4 separate regions of the Homo sapiens genome follow, and regions 1, 2 and 3 are each linked to region 4. The links are contacts of gene promoters, found by promoter capture Hi-C in blood cells and fetal thymus (Javierre and others, 2016). All regions are on one chromosome and are shown on one strand. Each heading gives the region's core, a stretch centred on a gene start or on the middle of the fragment in contact. The rest is flanking DNA. Distances are from core to core; before and after follow the strand shown. Region 1 overlaps TMEM68 (transmembrane protein 68). Region 2 overlaps CHCHD7 (coiled-coil-helix-coiled-coil-helix domain containing 7). Region 3 holds the start of ATP6V1H (ATPase H+ transporting V1 subunit H). Region 4 holds the start of PRKDC (protein kinase, DNA-activated, catalytic subunit).

The links. Contacts are between HindIII fragments. The CHiCAGO score rates a contact against its expected background, and 5 or more counts as called.
Region 1: a fragment that was not itself captured here is called in contact with the fragment with the promoter of PRKDC in region 4 in 1 of 17 cell types (non-activated CD4 T cells); the score reaches 6.0 in non-activated CD4 T cells.
Region 2: a fragment that was not itself captured here is called in contact with the fragment with the promoter of PRKDC in region 4 in 1 of 17 cell types (naive CD8 T cells); the score reaches 5.3 in naive CD8 T cells.
Region 3: the fragment with the promoter of ATP6V1H here is called in contact with the fragment with the promoter of PRKDC in region 4 in 4 of 17 cell types (naive CD8 T cells, total CD8 T cells, activated CD4 T cells and 1 more); the score reaches 6.0 in naive CD8 T cells.

What each region holds. Positions count from the first base shown.
Region 1 is chr8:55,767,070-55,770,895 of GRCh38, reverse strand. All of the region lies in intron 1 of TMEM68 (transmembrane protein 68), which reads left to right. Among named protein-coding and RNA genes, the nearest start is that of TMEM68, 4.4 kb to the left of the region's middle. The HindIII fragment of the contact is 6,579 bases long and covers 1-3,826 here.
Region 2 is chr8:56,213,692-56,217,069 of GRCh38, reverse strand. It overlaps CHCHD7 (coiled-coil-helix-coiled-coil-helix domain containing 7), which reads right to left. Exons shown (of 4, transcript NM_001011671.3): 2 at 2,403-2,472; 3 at 539-637. The coding sequence starts at 2,456. Among named protein-coding and RNA genes, the nearest start is that of CHCHD7, 3.6 kb to the right of the region's middle. RefSeq lists an enhancer at 3,033-3,378. The HindIII fragment of the contact is 230 bases long and covers 1,708-1,937 here.
Region 3 is chr8:53,841,068-53,844,556 of GRCh38, reverse strand. ATP6V1H (ATPase H+ transporting V1 subunit H) reads left to right here and starts at 1,312. Exons shown (of 14, transcript NM_015941.4): 1 at 1,312-1,523; 2 at 2,832-2,979. The coding sequence starts at 2,867. RefSeq lists a silencer at 1,004-1,153 and an enhancer at 1,224-1,363. The HindIII fragment of the contact is 7,596 bases long and covers 1-3,489 here.
Region 4 is chr8:47,958,136-47,961,808 of GRCh38, reverse strand. It overlaps PRKDC (protein kinase, DNA-activated, catalytic subunit), which reads left to right and starts at 1,673. Exons shown (of 86, transcript NM_006904.7): 1 at 1,673-1,836. The coding sequence starts at 1,683. MCM4 (minichromosome maintenance complex component 4) reads right to left here and starts at 868. Exons shown (of 17, transcript NM_182746.3): 1 at 795-868; 2 at 595-678; 3 at 129-293. The coding sequence starts at 664. RefSeq lists silencers at 435-834, 1,505-1,804, 1,815-1,864 and an enhancer at 2,045-2,204. The HindIII fragment of the contact is 8,899 bases long and covers 1-3,339 here.

The DNA.
Region 1 (3,826 bases), core at 1,011-3,510, 7.8 Mb before region 4:
GCATGAGCCACCGCGCGTGGCCTTGTCTACTTGTTTTTACAAAAGTTACGTGATTTCCAGATAGGGAAATTAAGATACTTTATATGTGATGCATTAGACTGTGTTTATTTTAGATTTTTAGGAGCAGGGGGCTGTAGAAAATAACCTGGAATTTTGAGAACTAAAATATTGTATTTCCCCCAAAACATCTTCTAGTACATAGAGTTCCCCCCTGCCCCCGAGACAGGGTCTTGCTCAGTTGCCCAGGCTGGAGTATAGTGGTGTGATCATTATAGCTTACTGCAGTCTTCACTCCACGGGCTCAAGCAGTCCTCCTGCCTTGGCCTTCCAAGTAGCTGCAACTTACAGGAACGTGCCACCATGCCTGGCGAACCTTTTTTTGGTAGAGACAAGGTCTCAGTATGTTGCCCCCAGGCTGGTCTCAAACTCCTGAACTCAAGCAGTCCTTCCACCTTGGCCTCGAAAACTGTTGGAATCACAGGCGTGAGCCACCCTGGCCCATGTCATTTTTCTTGGATTAAAATAAAGTGATAAGAAGTCAGTTACACCCCCAGGTAAATTCAGGGGGAAGGGGAAGGGCCAGGCAGAAGTATAGGGAAGACAGAAATTGCAATCTTAATATTTTCTTTCTGTCAAGAGAGAAAAAGAGAGATATATCAAAGAAAGTGTGTTGGAAGCCAGACCAGGAGGTAAGATGACTAGATTTTAATTTTAGTTCTTGGCTTTTACTGAATTAATTTAGTAATTTTAAGCAAGCAAACTTGGCTTTCTGTGTTTACTTTTTTTGTTATCTGCACAATTAAGGGGTTGCATTGAGATTTAAAGACACTTTGTCATATTATCAAAAGTAAGTGCTACATTTTATCTACTGAAAGGCATTTTATTCAAATTCCTCTGATAGTTCTCTAGTAGCAGGTTTTAGGATACTGTTTTGATCCAGATTTCTGTTAAAGATTTAGATGAGGCCAAGCAGGGTGGCTCACGCCTGCAATCCGAGCACTTTGGAAGGTGGAGGCGGGCGGATCACTTGAGGCCAGGAGTTCCAGACAAGCCTGGCCAACATGGCAAAACCCCATCTCTACTAAAAATACAAAAATTAGCTGGGTGCAGTGGTGCTTGCCTGTAGTCCCAGCTACACGGGAGGCTGAGGTATGAGAACTGCTTGAGCCTGGGAGGTGGAGGTTGCAGTGAGCTGAAATCGAGCCACTGCAGTCCAGCCTGGGTGACAGAGTGAGACTCTGTCTCAAAAAAAAAAAGTTTTAGACGAACACAGTTCAGTTGTATATTTAGCCAGCATTTGTTAGGTGCCTACTATGTGCCAGAAAGTAAGTGTTTTTCGTATGTTTTCTTAGATAACTATTTTATTTACTGATATATTTAGAATAGTATCTGGCACAAACTTCTCAGGGCCATCCACTTGTACATTGTATCCTGTCCCCTTTGGCCTAGTCAAGGACAGAGCTCTAACAATTATCTCCTCTCCTACATCATCTGTTTCTCACTCCCATTGATGAATTATCGTTGACATTGAACATGGGTGTATTTTCTCCTATCTTTTTTTTTTTTTTTTTTTGAGATGGGATTCTCATTCTGTCCCTGAGGCTGGAGTGCACTGTCAGAATCTCGGCTTATATAACCTCTGCCTCCCGGGTTCAAGCAATTCTAGTGCCTCAGCCTCCCAAGTAGCTGAGACTACAGGTATGCACCATGATGCCTGGCTAATTTTTGTGTTTTTAGTAGAGACGGCATTACCATGTTGGCCAGGCTGGTCTCAAACTCCTGACCTGAAGTGATCCACCCGCCTTGGCCTCCCAAAGTGCTGGGATTACAGGCATGAACCACTGTGCCTGGCCCTTTTTTTTTTTTTTTTTTTTTTTAAAGACAGAGTCTCTTGCTCTTTCACTGAGGCTGGAGTGCAGTGGCTTGATCATTACTCACTGCAGCTTCTACCTCCCAGGCTCAAGTGATCCTCCCCCTTCAGCCTCCCAAGTGGCTGGGATCATTGGTACATGTCACCATGCCCGGCTAATTTTTAATTTTTTTTTCTTTTTGAGCAGAGTCTCACTCTGTTGTCCAGGCTGGAGTGCAGTGGCATGATCTCGGCTCACTGCACTCTCCACCTCCTGGGTTCAAGCCATTCTTGTGCATCAGCCTCCCGAGTAGCTGAGATTACAGGAATGCATCACCACACCTGGCTAATTTTTGCATTTTTAGTAGAGATGGGGTTTCACTGTGTTGCCCAGGCTGGTCTTGAACTCCTGGCCTCAAGTGATCTGCCCCTACTTGGCCTCCCAAAGTGTTGGGATTACAGGTGTGAGCCACCGCACCTGGCCTAAATTTTTTTTTTAGAGATGAGTTTTTACTATATTGCCTGGCTGGTCTTGAACTTCTGGTTTCAAGCGATCCTCTTGCCTCAGTCTCCCAAAGTGCTGAGATTACAGGTGTGAGTTACCATGCCTGGCCTCTGTCTTAAAGCAACAGCTGCAGCAGCAGCAGCAAGGAACAACTCACCTGTGTTCCCTTCTAGATACCCACCTGTTTCTTTCCTCCTTTGTGAGTTTTTATATTTGCTGTTTCCAATTCATTTTCTCCCATTCATTCTTGAACTTCAAGGGTAAAGGGGAGCTGCTTCTGTCCTCTCCTGTCCAAAGTGTTTTGTTTCCTACTATACAAAAACAGCTCTTACCAGGGTTTGCCAGTTTCCTTTGTGTTGTAAAATCCAGTGATCAATTATCATTTTTTTTTTTTTTTTAAAGCTGTCTCCTACAGGAAGGAAGTGATCTCTTACCTTACTAGGCCTGTCAACAGCATTTAAAACAGCAGAATATGCCTTCCTTCTTGAAGCTCTTACTTCCAGGATACTGCTTCTGCAAGGAGGAGGCTGGCTTGCCATTGTCTTCCCAACTTCTAAAATGTTGGGTGCCTCAAGACTCAGTCCTGGAAATTCTTTTTTTTTTTTGAGACTGAGTTTCGCTGTTGTTGCCCAGGCTGGAGTGCAGTGGCATGATCTCGGCTCACTGCACCTCCGCCTCCCAGGTCCAAGCGATTCTCCTGCCTCAGCCTCCCAAGTAGTTGGGACTATAGGCGTGCGACACCACGCCCGGCTAATTTTGTATTTTTGGTAGAGACGGGGTTTCTCCATGTTGGTCAGGCTGGTCTCGAACTCCTAACCTCAGGTGATCCTCCCGCCTCGGCCTCCCAAAGTGCTGGGTTTACAGGTGTGAGCCACTGTGCCTGGCCAGAAATTCTTTTTTACTCTATATTCGTTCCCTGGAGGGATCTTCTCTAGTTCCATGGTTTTAAATATTGTCTATATGCTACCAATTCCTAGATTTATATCAGGGCCATCCACTTATACCCTGTATCCTCCTCCTGATCTTCCTGCTAAACTGCTGATGTCCGGCTGCCTACTTAATGTCTTCACTTGGATGTCCAATAGACATCTTAAACTTAACATGTTTAAAATGGAATTCCTGATCTCCATCCCACCCTCAAACCTGTTCTTCCTGCAACTCTTATTTTTTCACAAGCAAGCGAATAATAATGATGATAGCAATAGTTAATGCTTATATGTGATAAGCATTAACTATGCTTAGATGCTTATAAGCAATAGTTAATGCTTATAAGTGAATAATAATGATGATAGCAATAGTTAATGCTTATATGGTAGAAAGCACTCTTCTAAGAGTTTTTTTACACGTAATCTTCACGATAGTCTTATTAGGTAGATGCTATTTTTATTTTACAAATGAAGAAACTGAGGCAGAAAGATATTTAAGTACTTGCTAGGTTTTTTTACACGTAATCTTCACGATAGTCTTATTAG
Region 2 (3,378 bases), core at 573-3,072, 8.3 Mb before region 4:
AAAGTATATACAGTCTGTCAAGAAGAGCTACTGAATAATCGTGAAATAAAACCAACAGTGCATTTAGCAAAGCGAAAGGAAATAGCTGGATCCCGTGGTTCAAGGAAACAGAAATTATATACCAATGTTTTCAGAAAAATGGACCATTTTAACTTCCACGGATGGCAGTGAGAGAGAAAAAGGCAGAAATTGAAGCCTAACATGATGTGTTATGACAAGGGAAGTTAAACATTCTGTTCATCTCCAGGAAAACTAAATTTATAACAAAGACATTGTTTTAGGGCTGCAGATACTTAAATGTCTAAGAAGACCCACCTATATTAAAACTGCATTCTTATAGCTTAGAGGACGACGAGGCAGCTAACAAGAGCTCTCAAGGATCTTTCACGGCTAAAGTAGCACACAGAGGATAAAGTTGAAAAGTTAAGTTTCCCTACAGCCATCAGTGGGAAAGGATTGTGGGTACTGACTAATTTTAGGCTTCAGTTTCAACCCTAGGAGATGGGTTTTAACACAAAGCTAACCAATCTAGGCTTACCCAGAATCTCCGGCAGTTTTTGTACCTCAAGAAGTAAGTGGAACACCTTTCCCTGTCATAGTTATTTTCATCCAGACATCTGGTGGAAGCATCAGATTCCTTACAGATATAAGAGAGGCATCATTTAAAAGGTAGAACAGGATCTAAAAGCAAACAAACAAACAAACAAAAGCTGCTTCCCCAGAAGCAAATAATGTGAAATAGTTCATTTGTGTTCATTTTGATGGGTAGACTAATAAAAACTGGACAATCTCGCCAGCTATCCCAGTATGCACTCTGCTCAGGCTAACATCTTCCTTTTTATAATGTGGGCCAGTTTTCTGAATATGTGATCACAGGAATTTGAGCCAAATAACTGTGATCAATTAATCCAGTAACCATTTTAGTAAGAAACTGAGGCAAGGTGCAATGTGTTAAATGACTACTGCACAACTAGAATCAGAATCCATCTCCTGACTCACAGTACATCTCTCCTGTTTTTCCAGATTTTCACTTTGGCTTCAATGTTTGATCATAATATTGGTTTCAAGATTCCAAGTAAATCACTAATAACTGGTCTACAACAAGACAACCTAAATTAACACCATTCATCTCAATGCATTTTTGGCTACCATTTACTCCATTATACAAATACACTATTATATAAGCAATTTTAATAGATATTACTTCAAAACCGAAGTCAACAACACAAGCTATAAATTCAAAGGAAAGTAGGTGCCACATGGGGATTAAATTTAAGCTGTGTGAACTGGAAGTAGATTGAATAACAAACTTAAAAGTGAAAGGTATGATTCTGTGAGGTCACCTAAAGCAGGGGTCCCCAACCCCCAGGCCACAAAGTGGTACTGGTCTTCGGTCTGTTAGGAACCCGGCCAGATAGCAGGAGATGAGCAATGGGCAAGTGAGCCTTACCGCCTGAGCTCCCCTTCCTGTCACATCAGTGGCAGCATTAGATTCTCATCTAATGCTATTAGATCCCTATTGTGGGATCTAATATCACGAACCCTATTGTGAACTGCGTGCATGTGAGGGATCTAGGCTGCAAGCTCCTTAGGAGAATCTAATGCCTTTTGACGCCCGCCCCCTTCCCCATCCGTGGAAAAATTGTCTTCCACAAAACCGGTCCTTGGTGCCCAAAAGGTTGGGGAACACAGATCTAAAGGAAAGCTTTAGCTATATGGGTAGACAGTTTGCAACACATATCTAAGAAACATGTTCTACGTAAACAGAACAAAGCTGAATTTCTGTGCCAAATATTTAATGAATGTATATATTTGGAAAATGCATATAACTAAAGAGTATAATTTTCATGGGACCAGTATGATAACTACATTATTCAAACGTAGCAAAGCCACAAGTAAGTATCGCAAATCATACCAAATAAATGCCAATAAAAGCTTACTCTTAAAACATTTTGTTTATCAGATACCTTTGTGAAAACCTTTAAGCTTTAAATAGGCTAATTATATTATCAGCCCATTACTCTCAGCCAGGTTGTCAAGGACATGGTGATATTATTGCTAGTGAAACAATAAATGTCAGTGACAGTTTAAAAATATCATACCTTCCAGTTTTCCATGTTTGGACTAAATATTCTCAGTGTTACATTTTCCTGTCTAGTTTTACAGTGACAACCAAATGCTTGCATATTATACAAATAAGGAAAACTAAAGAAAAGATGAATGTTTGTTAGAGAAATTATAAACATCTAAAAATGCTCTAGTTAAATAGGATATGCTGGCCAACAATATTTTTTCTAGAGAAATAACTTTATTCAACAACTGCAGAAAACAAAGGCCCACAAAACTAGAGCAGCCTGTTTTTCCAACTTAACACTCATGAAAATTAAAGCAAACCATCCTACCGACAAACAAGGATTTATGTCAGGATCTCTCAGCCTCTGTGTTACCGAGGGCATTCTAACAGTCTTCTTACTGAGGGTAGACAGAAAAAAAATAATTATACAGTAGTTGACAGAAAATAAATCAATACATCTCAATAGCACTAAAAGTACCTGAAATTTTGATTTTGGCATAATGATCACTTAGTGAGGAACTTCATGTATTCTCTGTACTTTGTGAATAAAAACTTGAACGTGTTTTTCCTTTGTATTGCCATGCCTCAACACAAAGGCCATATATTGGATTGAAATGCATCTACTGGCTGGGTGCGGTGTCTCACGCCTGTAATCCCAGCACTTTGGGAGGCTGGAGCGAGAGGGCTGCTTAAGCTCAGCAGTTCGAGATCAACCTAGGCGACACAGAGAAACCCCATTTCTACCAAAAATACAAAAATTAGCCTGGTGTCGTGCCGTGTGCCTGTGGTCCCAGCTACTTGGAAGGCTAAGTAAGGTGGGATAGCCCAGGAAGTCAAGGCTGCAGAGAGCTGTGATTGCACCAGTGCACTCCAGCCTGGGTGACAGAGAGAGACCCTGTCTCAAAAAAACGAAAAAGAAAGATAGTTCAATTATAATTCAGTTGTTGTTTACTCTTATTCTTAAGTTTAAGCAACCAAATGTACTAATAAAACCTAAGAATACAGTATGCATTCCAACAATTACTTCCTTATTTTACACCAATTAGCGTACAAAATAAGAATGAAATTCGGTACAGTCCAACTTTAGCAAAAACATTCATCAACTGAAGTACCAGAGTGCCTATTTTATGGCCAATAGTAGGGTAGCCAACACACCAAAAAGCCAAGTTATTGCTTAGTTGACATTATGAAAAGCTATACTGTTTCAAAAACAAAAGAGTTGAAATTTTACTTCCAGTGGCATCTTCTTTTTAACTATTTCCCTGCGTTGCAGGAAGTCAGGGAATGCTACTGTGCTTCAGTAA
Region 3 (3,489 bases), core at 63-2,562, 5.9 Mb before region 4:
TGCCAGCTTTGCTCAGTTACACAGAAAACATGCTGTTTCAGCTTTTGGGAGTTTCTTAGTACACGATCGGTTTCTTTTTCTCTTTTATGAAAGTTTTTCCCCTTAGATTTGCTTTCAAAACAACAGACTTTCACTTCTGGCTAAGACAGAATGAGTGACCTAGTACAATCTTTGACACTGTTATTATATATCTTTATTCATAATCAATGCATGATTTTGATTATTCTGACTTTAATTTTACGAGTAAAAATGGGTTGGTTATAAATCCCTTTCAAAGAATTTTTTTTTTTTCTTTTTGAGACGGAGTTTTGCTTTTTCTGCCCAGGCTGGAGTACAATGGTGCGGTCTTGGCTCACTGCAACCTCTGCCTCCTGGGTTCAAGTGATTTTCCTACCTCAGCCTCCCAAGCAGCTGGGATTACAGGCATGCGCCACCACACCCAGCTAATTTTTTGTATTTTTAGTAGAGATGGGGTTTCACCATGTTGGTCAGCTGGTCTCGAACTCCAGACCTCAGGTGATCCACTGGCCTCGGCCTCCCAAAGTGCTGGGATTACAGGAGTGAGCCACCGCGCCCGGCCCCTTTCATTGCTTTTTAAGGAAAACATGCTATCATATATACTTCACCTCCAGGGCAGTACATTCTTACTTTAAGGCAAAGACAGTTGCTGAGGCCTGGACTAGGGGAAAATTTGGGCTCCAGATGGGACTGTTGGATAAAATACCAGACGTCCTGTAAATGTGAATTTTAGATAAACAACGAATAACTTTTTAGTATAAAAGTAAATACTGCAATGGAATTTATTATTTGCTAAATGTGCAACCCTAGGTTAAGAGAGCTTTTCAGACCCACTTCTCAGCCCGAGTTTTCTATTTAAAATCAGAATAAGAACGCCTGCTTCATGGAGCTGTTAAATCCAAATGGAAATTAATTTGAAAGCGCGAAATCAAACTTTTCAAAAGAATGACGGTTACAATAAGAGCGTTTTGGCCTCTGCTAGCTGCTTCCGGGCGGAGGTCCTCGGCCTCCCCTAGGCGAGGCACTAGGTCTGGGGGCGGCGGGTCTTAGCGTGCCCGCCACGCTCGCCGCCTCCCACCTGCCCTGGCTGGCTGGGGCCCGACCCTTGCGTCGCTCCGGGGCCCAAGTTACGGACTCGGGAATCCAGTTGTCCGCACCGAACAAGCCCCGCCGCAGCGCCCGCCCCTCCTCTTGCTGCTTTGGAGTCTCCCGGCTTCCGCCTTCCGCAGCAGTCACGTGCCTCCGATCACGTGACCGGCGCCTCTGTCATTCTACTGCGGCCGCCCTGGCTTCCTTCTACCTGTGCGGCCCTCAACGTCTCCTTGGTGCGGGACCCGCTTCACTTTCGGCTCCCGGAGTCTCCCTCCACTGCTCAGACCTCTGGACCTGACAGGAGACGCCTACTTGGCTCTGACGCGGCGCCCCAGCCCGGCTGTGTCCCCGGCGCCCCGGACCACCCTCCCTGCCGGCTTTGGGTGCGTTGTGGGGTCCCGAGGATTCGCGAGGTAAGGCCGCCCTCGCGTTGTTTGGTCTCAGGCTGCAGACCAGGTCAGGCGACTCTTGCAGTTTCTCCAGCTTGCCTGGTGCGTGCTGGTGTCTCGCCGCTTGGTCCTCTCCTGTTCTTCGGCCCCCGGTTGCCAGATTGCTTTTCTTCCAGGCCTCAACCAGGTTTATTAAGCGAAATTCTGGAGCCTTTCTCGCAGGGGGAAGAAACGTCAGGGGCGGGCAGGAGAGTGGAGGGGGAGGGGTAAAAAGTATACCTTCTCCAGGACTGGGCCACGGCCCTGGATCGCTGGGGGTGCGAGTAGTTCAGGGACTTAGGTAATTGTCTAGAGACACCTTGAGCTACGCCAGGACGGGCCGCTGAGGCTGAGCCTCCTTGGCTGCAGAGTTCCAGCCTGGCCCAGTTGAAGCCTGTTTTTTCCTGGGCCCTGTCGTTCGCGCTGCCCAGGGTTGTTTATACAGCAAATCTTCAGATACAGAGATTAAGTTCCAAATTGATTAAGATCGTTGGAAACCCGGAATATAATTTTGGGTAGGATTTTAACTTCTTTGTGGCCATGGCCGTGAATTTATGTTTTGCAAGTGGCAACCTGTATTTTGCTTTGTGTTAAAATCAGTCGTTTGTATCTGGAAGTTTAGGAGTGAGAATTACATAGAATTTCATTATTGTAGGTTCTTGTCGTCCAGCCAGACCGCCATTGTTGGCTTACCTAAATTGTAATATGTATTTGTTCTAAAACTTTCTCTCCGAATTTTGATTTTGCAAATACTATGAATTTTGTTTGAAAAGGAAAGCACTGTCTTCTAAGAAATTATGTTCCCACTTTGTGTATTTTAATTTGAGTAATTTTCGAAAGGACTTAGAATTTTTAATGTGCCACTTCAAAATGATGCTTAGTAAATGTTTATAAAACTAGCCTTATCCGTACTATTCATATTCTTATTGTTTCTCTATGAGAAAAGTTAACCACAATTGTATAAATTTACAATTTTTCCCATATTTATACCTATTCTATTTAATCATGATTTCTGATTTCAGTATATTAGGTGATTGCTTTAAAAATCTTACTGCAGTGTTAGTGCCAATAATGAAAAAAATTTTTCTAGAAAAGCAAAAGCCTAAAGAACTCTTTTATGGAGCAGTGGACAATATTTGAAATATAATGATACTTTCAGACTTAGGACATTTAATATTTGAGTTGAATGCCTGGGGAGATTAAAGTGATCACGATATTCATAATCATAATATTAATAGTTGTAAAAAAAAGAAACACCTCGTATTCTGTTTTTACCTTGCATCAAAATTGAAGATTTGTTGAAAGACATTCAAGATTACGAAGTTTAGATGACCAAAATGGATATCCGAGGTGCTGTGGATGCTGCTGTCCCCACCAATATTATTGCTGCCAAGGCTGCAGAAGTTCGTGCAAACAAAGTCAACTGGCAATCCTATCTTCAGTAAGTACCAATTTGCTGTGAATCATGGACAGTCATATGCTTTTGCATCAGACTTTTTCATGGTCATGCTTCTATGAGAGAAATACAGGGAAAATACTGAAAAATGTGGAAGAAACACTTCCTCTTCAGAATAATTAGCTGTCTTAGGGAGTTAAGTGTAGTGGGGTGGAAACAGCTTGGCGCCCTAGTGGGGAAGCAGAGCGGCTTATGGTGCTTTTGACCTTCTCTGGCTGCCTGGGGAAGTACTTTTGGAATAAGTGGGAAACATAGGAGGAATGTCCTTGGGCTAACGGAGGGAGGAAGGGGATGAGGGGCAAAACCTGCTAGACTGGTCTGATATGCCCTGGCAATCAGCATGGGGGCAGGTGGCCTTTTTAGAGTGGTGCATACAACTAATAAGAAGCACAGATATTTGAGTTGAGAGACTTGGATTTGAGTTTTGGTTCTTGCTATTAGTTTGGTGATCTTAAGCAAATCACTTAACTTCTCTGAGGCTCAATAAAGTAAAAT
Region 4 (3,673 bases), core at 424-2,923:
CATGCTCAGTCACGTGCAGAGGGGATGCTTTAGGCGTTATGCCAACTGTTATAAAGCCAGTAAACCTGAGCAGATAAAGCATCAGCTGTGTATCAAGCACAGCAAAACCAAGATCTTCAGACACGCACCTGAAGAATGCATTTGGGGAGGGCTGGAAAACAGCACGTCCTGCGCAGCAGGGCTCTGCAGGTCCACTCCAGGCGAGGTTGGCATCGGCTGCAACTCCCCCGTGGAGGTGGAATCCTCGCCTCTACGTCTCTGAGAGGGAGATGACCTGGCATCCTCACTCCGAGCTTGTGTCACACAAAACAGAAAAGACAGCCATTAACTTTCAGGGCCGGCCTTCCTGGATTTGTCTTTTCCTTGGGGCATTATGACTCACCACTGAACCAAACCAAACAGAGGCAAATGGCAATCGAATTAAGCAGCACCCAGGCCACAGCCTGCTGTGGGTGTCTGTGCGCACCAAGCGGCAGCGCCCAGCCCGAGGCTGAGCGCCCGGGTCCCGCGCACCCACCCAGCGCTGCCAGCTGCGGCGAGAGGGCAGACGGGGCGGCGCCGGGGGCTGTAGTGGGCCCGGCTCGGGGGACTCACGCGTCTGGGCGGGGGTGGCCCTTCCACGCCGGCTGCCGCGGCGGCTCGGGGTCGACGCCGGGGACGACATAGTGCTCGGAGTACCTGCGCGACAAGGACAAGCTCGGGCCGGGCCCGCCTCCCGGCTTCCCTGCCCTGCTCCGCAGCGCGGACGTTCCCGTCGGCTCCGCGCCACGCCCTCCCCGCCGGCGCGCGGTTACCGTGGAAAGGCGGCCGCTTGCCGACGACGCTCGCGGACTCCGAGTCCACCTGGCGAGTAGCGCTCCCAAACCGCGAGACCCAGAGTTCCCGCCGGCGGCAAGGTCGTCTCCGCCCCTGGCGGGGCCTCACCAATCACAGCGGCGCTCGTACGTGGCTCCGCCTCCGGGAGGCGCCACTGCGCATCGGCAGGGGGGGACAGTGCCGCTTCTTTCAGCGCCCGTGCGTAAACCAGAAGTAGGCCTCGCTCGGCCCCCCTTGGTCCAGATGGTCTGACCCCCTGCGCGGCAGCGTTTTCGCGGGAAAACTGGGTCCTACAGCACCAGCTCTCGGGGTGTGTTCCTCTAGCGTTGGCTAGGGAGCGTGTGCTTCTTTATCCCTTAGGCGTTTTTGGTTAATAAGGACATTACAGATGCATTTCTCACTTAAAGATTTTTTTTATTAAAAAAAATTAAGGACGGGAGGTGGTGGGGATGGTCTCATTATGTTGCCCAGACTGGTCTCGAACTCCTGCGATCCCCCCGCCTCAGCTTCCTAAAGTGTTGGGACTGCAGGCGGGCATCACCGCCCCCGACCGCGTTTGTCGTTTTTTATCGAGGAACAAACTTGGAACTCTTGACCTAGGCCCCTCGCTTGTTTTATCTGCCTCTGGTATTTATTTAGCCAAGTCCAACACCAAGTAGCCACCCAAACTACCTCCGCAGGTCAGACGTTTTTCCTTAGGTTTCCATGTTGATTCGGGCCAAAGAGGCGCGCTTACTGGCCAGGCCTTCCCGCAGGGGTCCCCGGGAAAGTTCCTGCCGCCGCGCCCCGCAGCCCCGCCTCCGCGCGTAGGGGCATTTCCGGGTCCGGGCCGAGCGGGCGCACGCGCGGGAGCGGGACTCGGCGGCATGGCGGGCTCCGGAGCCGGTGTGCGTTGCTCCCTGCTGCGGCTGCAGGAGACCTTGTCCGCTGCGGACCGCTGCGGTGCTGCCCTGGCCGGTCATCAACTGATCCGCGGCCTGGGGCAGGAATGCGTCCTGAGCAGCAGCCCCGCGGTGCTGGGTGGGTACCGGCCCGAGCTGGGCCGCGGGTGGGTCCTGGCTTCCCGAGTCGTTCTGGAGCCGGGCAGCCCGGCGCTTCTCTGTGTTTAGATGACGGTATTTTGAAGTACAGCAATTAGATTCTTGGGGGAATTTCTGTGTATGTGTATAAAGGGATTTGTCATACTGCTTTTTACCCCCTAGTATTAGAGGAAAGATATTTTAAAGCCAAAGTTGGTGAAAACGACCCCTAATATGGCAATCATTGCTATGCAGAGTGGGGGGCAGGGCAAGAGAAATAATTTTTTTTTTTTTTGAGACGGAGTCTCGCTCTGTCGCCCAGGCTGGAGTGAAGTGGCGCGATCTCGGCTCACTGCAACCTCCGCCTCCCGGGTTCAAGCTATTCTCCTGCCTCAGCCCCCCGAGTAGCTGGGATTACAGGCGCGCGCCACCACGCCCGGCTAATTTTTTTGTATTTTTAGTAGAGATGGGGTTTCACCATGTTGGTCAGGCTGGTCTCGAACTCCTGACCTCGTGATCCCCCCGCCTCGGCCTCCCAAAGTGCTGGGATTACAGACGTGAGCCACCGGGCCCGGCCAAGAGAAAGTATTTTCTTTCACCTGAATCTCGCCTAATCCCACCAGTACCTTTTCCAAACCCCTCTATTTGCCGTTCCTACTTTGAGAAAAATTGAAGAAATGTAATTGAAGTCATGTTCTTTTAACTCTTTAGCAATGCCTGGGTGGGAACTTTTTCCCCTTTGTAGTAAAAGTGCCTCTTTTTAGCATTTTAAATATTCAAATACTTAATTATGTGGATCTCCTGTATTCCTTCTTTAAAACACGAGTATGCAGACCTTGATGTTGTGCCCTATTAAAAGGTGAGATTTTCTTCCGGAGGGTCTAGTAGTGAATATGGTGTAGGAATAACTTAAACAGTTTAAACTAGATGCTATATGTGGCACGGTGCGGTGGCTCATGCCTGTAATCCCAGCACTTTGGGAGGCTGTGGCAGCTGGATCACCTGAGGTCAGGAGATGGAGACCAACCTGACCAGTATGGTGAAACCTTGTCTCTACTAAAAATACAAAAATTAACTGGGCATGGTGGCGAGCGCCTGTAGTCCCAGCTATTCGGGAGGCTGAGACAGGAGAATGTCTTGAACCCAGGAGAAGGAGATTGCAGTGAGCCGAGATTGTGCCACTGCACTCCAGCCTGGGCAACAGAGCACGACTCCGTCCCAAAAAAAAAAAAAAAAAGATGCTATATACATGTATCCTATATGTACTCTATCTGTTGTCAAGAATATATTAACAATGGGGAAATATCAAACAAAAAACTAACATTGCGTGATTACTTTCTCTTCTCAGGGTTTCAAATTTAGAATTCATTTTTGTTCGTTTAGTAACTTGTTTCTAAAGCACTTCCAAGTTTACCTTCCATTTATGCCATATCTCCTTTCACTTGAGAGATTCCAGGGGAAGTGTATTAGTTCCTTATTGCTGCTGTAACAATTACCACAAGCTTAGTGGTTTAAAACAGCACAGGTCTGTTACTCTTACAGTTCCCACTGTAAGGGGGATTCTGTGAGTCAGAATCCCACACAGGTCTCACCAAGCTAGAACCAAAGTACCAGACAGGGCTGCTTTCTTTCTGAAGGCTCTTGGGGAGGATCCATTGCCTTATTCATTCAGGTTATATAGGATTGAGGTCCCTGACATTCCATACTTCTTGAAGCTGTCCCCTTTCCTTGGATCACAGCTCCCTTCCCTTGGTCTTCAAGGCCAGCAACAGCATGTCAAGTCCCCCTAACTAGAGGTTTGGAATCTCCCGCTTTCCCAACTTCCTGTCTCTCTGACC